2 separate regions of the Homo sapiens genome follow, and region 1 is linked to region 2. The links are contacts of gene promoters, found by promoter capture Hi-C in blood cells and fetal thymus (Javierre and others, 2016). All regions are on one chromosome and are shown on one strand. The core of a region is centred on a gene start or on the middle of the fragment in contact, and the rest is flanking DNA. Distances in the headings are between cores, read along the strand shown.

Region 1 (3,341 bases), core at 811-3,310, 160 kb after region 2:
GCAGGTGTAGTCCCAGCTTCCTGGGAGGTTGAGGTGGGAGGATCACTTGAACCTGGGAGGTCAAGACTGCAGTGAGCTATGATGGTGCCACTGCATTCCAGCCTGAGCAACAGAGTGAGACTCTGTCTCAAGACGAAACCAAACAGAAATGGGAAAAGTTGGGAGTATAGCTGGTTTGGGAGACCAGGGATTCAGTAGTGGACAGATAAGTCTGAGACCTCATTAAACTTCTAAGTGGAAATTATTTTTAATTTTTTTAAAGAAAGCACTAGGGCATGATAGATTTAGTCTTTTAACTTTAAAATTTGTTGGTTATTCCAAAAATGTTTCCACCTACAGAAAAATCATTAAGATATAATAAAACAAATTGTTATTCTTATGCACGTAAAATGAAATTTAAAACCACCATCTCCTAGTTGATAAGGCAGTACTATATATATATATATATATATATATATATATTTTTTTTTTTTTTTTTTTGAGATGGAGTCTCGCTCTGTCACCCAGGTTGGAGTGCAGTGGCACGATCTCTGCTCACTGCAACCTCCACCTCCTGGATTCAAGGGATTTTCCTGCCTCAGCCTCCTGAGTGCTGGGACTACAGGCGCGTGCCACCATGCCTGGCTAATTTTTGTATTTTTAGTAGAGACAGGGTTTCGCCATGTTGGGCAGGCTGATCTCAAACTCCTGACCTGAGGTGATCCATCCCCATTGGCCTCTCAGAGTGCTGGGATTACAGGCGTGAGCCACTGCGCCTGGCCAGTCATATAATTTGAGTACTTTTTTAGAGAAGCATCATAGCATAGAGATAGTATATCGACTCTAGAGCAAGTTTGCTTGGCTTTATTTCTTTTATTTTTAAAAATTTTCTTTGTATAAATTTATGGGGTACAAGTGTTACATGTATATATTGAGTAGTGGTGAAGTCAGGGCTTTTCTTCTTCTTTTCTTTTTTTGAGACGGAGTTTCACTCTTTTTGCCCAGGCTGGAGTGCAATGGCCCGATCTCGGCTCCGCAACCTCCGCCTCCTGGGTTCAAGTGATTCTCCTGCCTCAGCCTCCCGAGTAGCTGGGATTACAGGCATGCGCCACCACACCCAGTGAGTTTCTACTTTTAATAGAGACGGGGTTTCTCCACGTTGGTCAGGCTAGTCACGAACTCCCGACCTCAGGTGATCCGCCCGCCTCGGCCTCCCAAAGTGCTGGGATTGCAGGCATGAGCCTCCGCACCTGGCCTTTTTCTTTTATTTTTAAATTTTATTTATTTATTTATTTTTGGTAAGTCATGCATAGGGCTTTTTTGTGTATCCATCTCCAAAATAACATACATTGTACCCTGCATTTAAAACGTTATCGTGCTACTTACTGGCTGTGTGACTTTGGGTGAATTACTTTGCCTCTCTGTGCCTTAGTTCTGTCATCTGTATAATGATGAAAACAATACCTAAAAGGGATTCAATTATTTCATATTTATAATGTGTTTAGAACAGTGCCTGAAACATAGTGCTAAATATGTGATATAATTTGTCTTTCAGATAATTTGTTAAAAGCCATTTTTAGTATTTAACTTATCTTAAATATACTTATGAGGCTCTAACCAAACTATACCATCTCTATGAAAAAACAAGATTATGTGTTTCACATGAAGCCATGCATCTTGCAAAGATGTGCTGATGAAAAGTGCAACATGCACTTCAGGAATCTGCTTTCTATAAAAGCTTTTATGTTTCTGGTCTGCTTATTTCTAGGTGCCATATCTTAACTAAAAATGTTAACTGGTTGTCTTTATCTATAGCAGTATATAAGGATTCTTAAAATTTGGATCTTATAGATGGAGTGTTTTAAAACAATTGATAGTGGCTTACTCCCATTCTCTGGACTGAGGGCTCAGTCTGACTGCCACTGTTCGCATTGTTAGTTTAAGTAATAGTGCTGATCACACTGCTTTCCAAGGAGGTTTTCACTTTCTTCCATATATATTTCTTTTCTTTCTTTTCCTTTTTTTCTTTTTCTTTTCTTTTCTTTCTTTCTTTTTTTTTTTTTTTTTTTTTTGAGACAGAGTCTCTGTTGCCCAGGCTGGAGTGCAGTGGCATGATCTCAGCTCACTGCAGCCTCCGCCTCCTGGGTTCAAACAATTCTCCTGCCTCAGCCTTCCAAGTAGCTGGGATTACAGGCATGGGCCACCACACCCGGCTAATTTTGTATTTTTAGTAGAGACAGGGTTTCACTATGTTGGTCAGGCTGGTCTTGAACTCCTGACCTCTGGTGATCCACCTGCCTCAGTCTCCCAAAGTGTTGAGATTACAGGCGTGAGCCACTGCGCCCAGGCTGAATCTTTATTTTCTTTGTGTGCTCTGCTCAGCCGTCTCAGTATTCTGCCCTGGGAAATGTTGAAAGGAGGGTTTTAAGCTTAAGATTCTTTTTACAGGATAATTTCCACATTGATTCCAAACTGAAAATAGATCCCGCGTTGCATAGGAACACTTTCACTCTATGTAGTCGGGGTGGGACTGACTCTCTTCCTTATTTCCAGGAATGGGGACTGTGACAGAGACCTAGCCAATCAGGGCTTTCTTGGAACTTTTGCTGGGACCACTGGGAAAGGGGTTTTCTTTGTTGGGATTCCTACCTTTAGAGATACTGGTGGTCATCTCTACCACCATATGAAGAAAGCTTGTTGAGAAATAAAGGAAGTACAGAGGAAAGCGGTGGTAAGACAAAGAAAAATAGATTTCTAATTATATTTTTATCTCTTTTATCCATTTCTGAAGCTGAATGACTTAGTTATATGATCCAATAGTTTTCTCCCCACTTTAAAAATTACATTTCCAGCCCTCCATCAATGATTGAACCTAAGTTACTGATCTATGGCATATTCTATGTAAAGCTTTCAAGTACTTTTCTAGGTATGGTAATCAAGGTTTTAATATTTAAGCATTTAAAACATAGTTTTTAATTTTTTAAATTAAAAACAGTTATTTTTTATTTTTATAAAGTCAGGGTCTCACTTTGCTGCCTAGGCTGGTCTTGAACTCCTGGCTTCAAGAGATCCTCTTGCCTTGGCCTCCCAAAGTGCTGGGATTATAGGCATGAGCCACTACACCTGGCCAAAAATATTATTTAAATTCACTTTTATTTGTTTTTTAGAGACAGGGTTTTACTCTGTTGCCCAGCTGGACTTAAATTCCTGGTCTCAAGGGAACCTCCCACCTTAGCCTCTCCAGGAGCTGGGACTACAGGTGCATGCCACCACACCTGGCATATATAAACACACATCTTTAGCATATAAAACAAAGGAATAAATTAACATGCAAAATTTATAAATGTCATATGTGGGCATAA
Region 2 (3,628 bases), core at 476-2,975:
TCTAATTTCATTCAATATTTAATTAAAATGTTGCTTCCTTACAATTCTACCCCATATAAAAATAATTCCTTTTCCATAATTGCAAATGCTTCACAATAACATACTAGGCCATAAACAGTTTAGCTTCAACCTGTCATTTTTCACGAGCTCATTCAAGTCTTCAGTGACTGCTTTCTCCCAGGACAGACAACTGAGGGTCCTGATGTAGGAATTACCCTGACTGTAATCAAATCTCAGGGTAAAAACATGACAAGTCCGCTTTCCACGCTGCTCCTCTGCCCAAACTTTCCCCTTTCATTCTGGGAATGACCATCGACTCTCAAAATGATGTTAAACAACAGCCCACAACTGATCTATACTCCCTCTTCCGACAAACCCTATACTTCTCTATATCAAAGCAGCATTTGCCAAGTCTTGGTAGGGAGCACTTCAGGTCATTCCCAGAGAGATGCCCATACATAAGGTGGAAGTGTCCATGTTGCAAGGCAGTGCAAACGCTCAGATTTCAAGCATTCATAATGCGTTGACAGAAACATTTTTTTTCTATTTAAATCTCATGTTGATTCCCACTCTGGCAGTGATTACGTCCTAAGTCATTACGTCGCTTTTTAAATACCAATTTGTCAAGAAAGGTAACTCCATCCCATCCAACAACAGACTTGAGCACGCCAAGTATCGCTCATTTTTCTTAATTTGCTCTAAGTTTCTTAATAAACTGAGTGTTTCCAAAAGAAAATTTCACAACCCGCACAAATGCCATTTCCAAATTTAACTAACCATGGCTAATACTTAGAAGTGTAAGCGTTAACACAGGAAAATCAGCATGAGGGACAAAATACACACACATATACACTCACACACACACACACAATCCTTAAACACTGAACTAGGGCGCCAGCCTCATGTTTAAATATCTCAACTTGAACTCCACTGAAACAAGAGGAAATTCTCACTAGCCAGGCAGCAGTAAGGCTTTTGTGGACACCTCTTATTTTCAAAGAACCCTCTTTTTAAAAAGTTGAAAATTAATTTCTAACTGCTTTAAAGGGCGCATGACTGGGTCAAAAGATAAACACAGAAAGTGTAGGACACTCTCAGGCGGGAGCAGCGCAGGTTTAGCCCCGGCCGGAGGGGAAGGAGGGAAATGAGTGAGGGGTCAGAGACAGGAGGAAAGACGCGGGAGACGCGGCACCCACCGGCGAGCAGCCCGGGCTAGGCCGAGCCCGCGCCCAGCGCCCCGCGCCCGCCGCGTCCCCCACACCGGGAACTGCCCGTACCTGTCCGACACGCCGGGATGCGCTGCGGGGCCCGCGACGCCGGCGCCTCTCACGGCGCCGCGTCCGCCGCCCGCGAGCCAGGAAGCCACCGCGGCCTGCGGCTTCCCGCCACCGCCGCCCGTTCCTTCTTCCAGGGACACGGCGAGCTGGCTGAAAGCGTAAAGGAGCGAGCAGAAGCCGCAGGCCACACACAGCACCACGACGCGCAGGTAGCGCCGCATCGCCCCGGCCGCGCTCCTCCTTCGCCGCCGCCGCCGCGCCCGCCCCGACGAACTGGAGCGGAGGGAGGGGCACCGCGCAGCCGCGGGCGCAACAAGTTCCTCACCCGCAGCCGCCGCCGCCGCCTTGCGCCCGCTCCCTTCCTTCCCTCCCCGCCCACCACCTAGGCGAGCGCAGTCGCGGCTCCGGAGCCGAAGGACTACCCGCCCGGAAGCCTGGACACCGCCTCTGCCGCCGCGCGCTCAAGGGTCAGCGGCAGCGACGCAACCCCGCCCCTCCCCCGGGCGGGAGGGCTGGACGCGCCGGCGCAGTTCGCGTGGGAGGGACGCAGGGCTGGCGCGCAGAGGGTGGTGTGAGTGCGCGGAACGCGGCGCGCCTGAGGGCTATAGCTAGCGCAGGCCGACGCGCAGGTGAATGGGAGCCCTGTGGGTCTCGACCGCCGAGAGAGGGGGAGCGAAAGCCTCAGGGCTCTGGAGGCAGTTGACCTAAATTCTAATTATGGTCCTTCCACATGGTAGTTTGTGACATTGGGCAACCTAAATTCTCTGAGCATGTTTCTTCGTCCCTAAAATGGAGCTACTATCCTCATCATGGGGTGGTTGTAAAGATTAAACTGTTTAACGCTCGAAAACCGCCTAACACTTAGAAGACACTTGACTAGGCCAGTTTCCTCTCCATCCTCCCCCAGCCTCTAAGTTTCTGTGATACTATAATGTGCACGAGCCATTTTCACCCCGATAAGCTCATTGCTTCGTGTGTTTGGTATGCGGACCTTACCTCTTGCCTCCCAGCAGACAGTGAGTTCCTGTAAGGCAGGGCTCTTCCCTTTGACCTTTTTGACCTCCCTCACAACTCATTATTTTCATGTGCAAAACAATTAGTATTCTCTCCACAGAGCTTCTTTCTTCCCCAGTTCTTCTCCCTCTTCTTCTGTGTTTCCACTACGTTCATTCATTGACCATTTATAAAGCATCACTTGTGCCAAGCTCTGTGTGAGTACCTAGGGGTATAAAGAGGCCTAAGTGGAGCGTGGGTGGGACAGCGGATACTTGTAAATAAGCGCAACGCAGTGATAACAGACTTAAGATCCAGGCCTGTAAGGGTGTGGGCATACACACAAAGGAACAATCAGTTCTATCTGTGAGTATGGTCAAGAGAGACTTCATAGCAAAGGTGGCGCTAGAGTCTTGAGTCGGGTAAGGGAAGTAATTCCAGGCTGAAGGATCAATAAACAGGCTCTTGTGTAGGGAACTGTTGAGAAGTTTGATACCACCAGCTAAGTGAATGCAAGAGAGGGTATGATGAGCGATAAGCGCGTAGAAGGGGCCAGATATTTGAGTGCTTTGTTTAGCACACCAAGGAGTTTGAATTTAATCTGCAAGACATTAGTGAACCATTGAAGGGTTTTTAAATAGGGAAGTAACATGATCACAATTGCATTTTAGAGAGCAGATTCTGGCTGTAGTGTGGAGGCTGAAACAGAGAGAGGAGAGATTGGAGGCAGAAAGCAGCACCAGTGCCAAAAAGTGAGGGAAGGGATACTTAAAAATACACACACACACGAACACACATTCATGGGGAAAAATCATGCGTTTAACTGCTGAAATTGCATCTGGGGCGTTGAAAAGTTTGGCCATGAGATACAAGGTGGGGAAATGCTGCGCAAAATAGTAGCAGTCTCCATTTGGATCCTTGGCTCCCTATACCAAAAAAGTAGTGGTTCTGTGACCATGATAAAGTCACTAAACAAATTTAAGGTTCAACTTCCTCCCCTTCTTGCTTTACCTGATAAAAAATGAACATTAGCATGCTATCAAGATGTGTAAAGAGAATGAGAACATACATTTATGCATTCAATAAACATTTATTGAACATATTCTACATGCCAGACAAGGGGCTCTGATGCAGAGTATTCAGAAATAAAAGGAGTGTACTGCTCTCAAAGGGAAAACAGGCAAATAGAAACCACAAGTATACTAAATTAATACTTCCACTACACCTTACACTTCTTAGAGAAATGAAGATAAACTTAACGAAGTATCCAGAATGATAGGAAAAGCATTGATAAGAATGAAAATACCTTTTGAGAGAAAGCTGAAAGATATGGTACCAAGAAACTAGAGTAAGAGCTA

The links. The method cuts DNA at HindIII sites, captures the fragments that hold promoters and counts their contacts. A CHiCAGO score of 5 or more calls a contact.
Region 1: a fragment that was not itself captured here is called in contact with the fragment with the promoter of GXYLT1 in region 2 in 1 of 17 cell types (activated CD4 T cells); the score reaches 5.6 in activated CD4 T cells.

What each region holds. Positions count from the first base shown.
Region 1 is chr12:42,305,109-42,308,449 of GRCh38, forward strand. It overlaps LOC124902921 (a long non-coding RNA gene), which reads right to left and starts at 1,444. Exons shown (of 2, transcript XR_007063280.1): 1 at 1,366-1,444. The HindIII fragment of the contact is 691 bases long and covers 1,716-2,406 here.
Region 2 is chr12:42,143,149-42,146,776 of GRCh38, forward strand. GXYLT1 (glucoside xylosyltransferase 1) reads right to left here and starts at 1,726. Exons shown (of 8, transcript NM_173601.2): 1 at 1,278-1,726. The coding sequence starts at 1,498. RefSeq lists silencers at 1,114-1,343, 1,424-1,923 and an enhancer at 2,084-2,153. The HindIII fragment of the contact is 13,899 bases long and covers 1-3,628 here.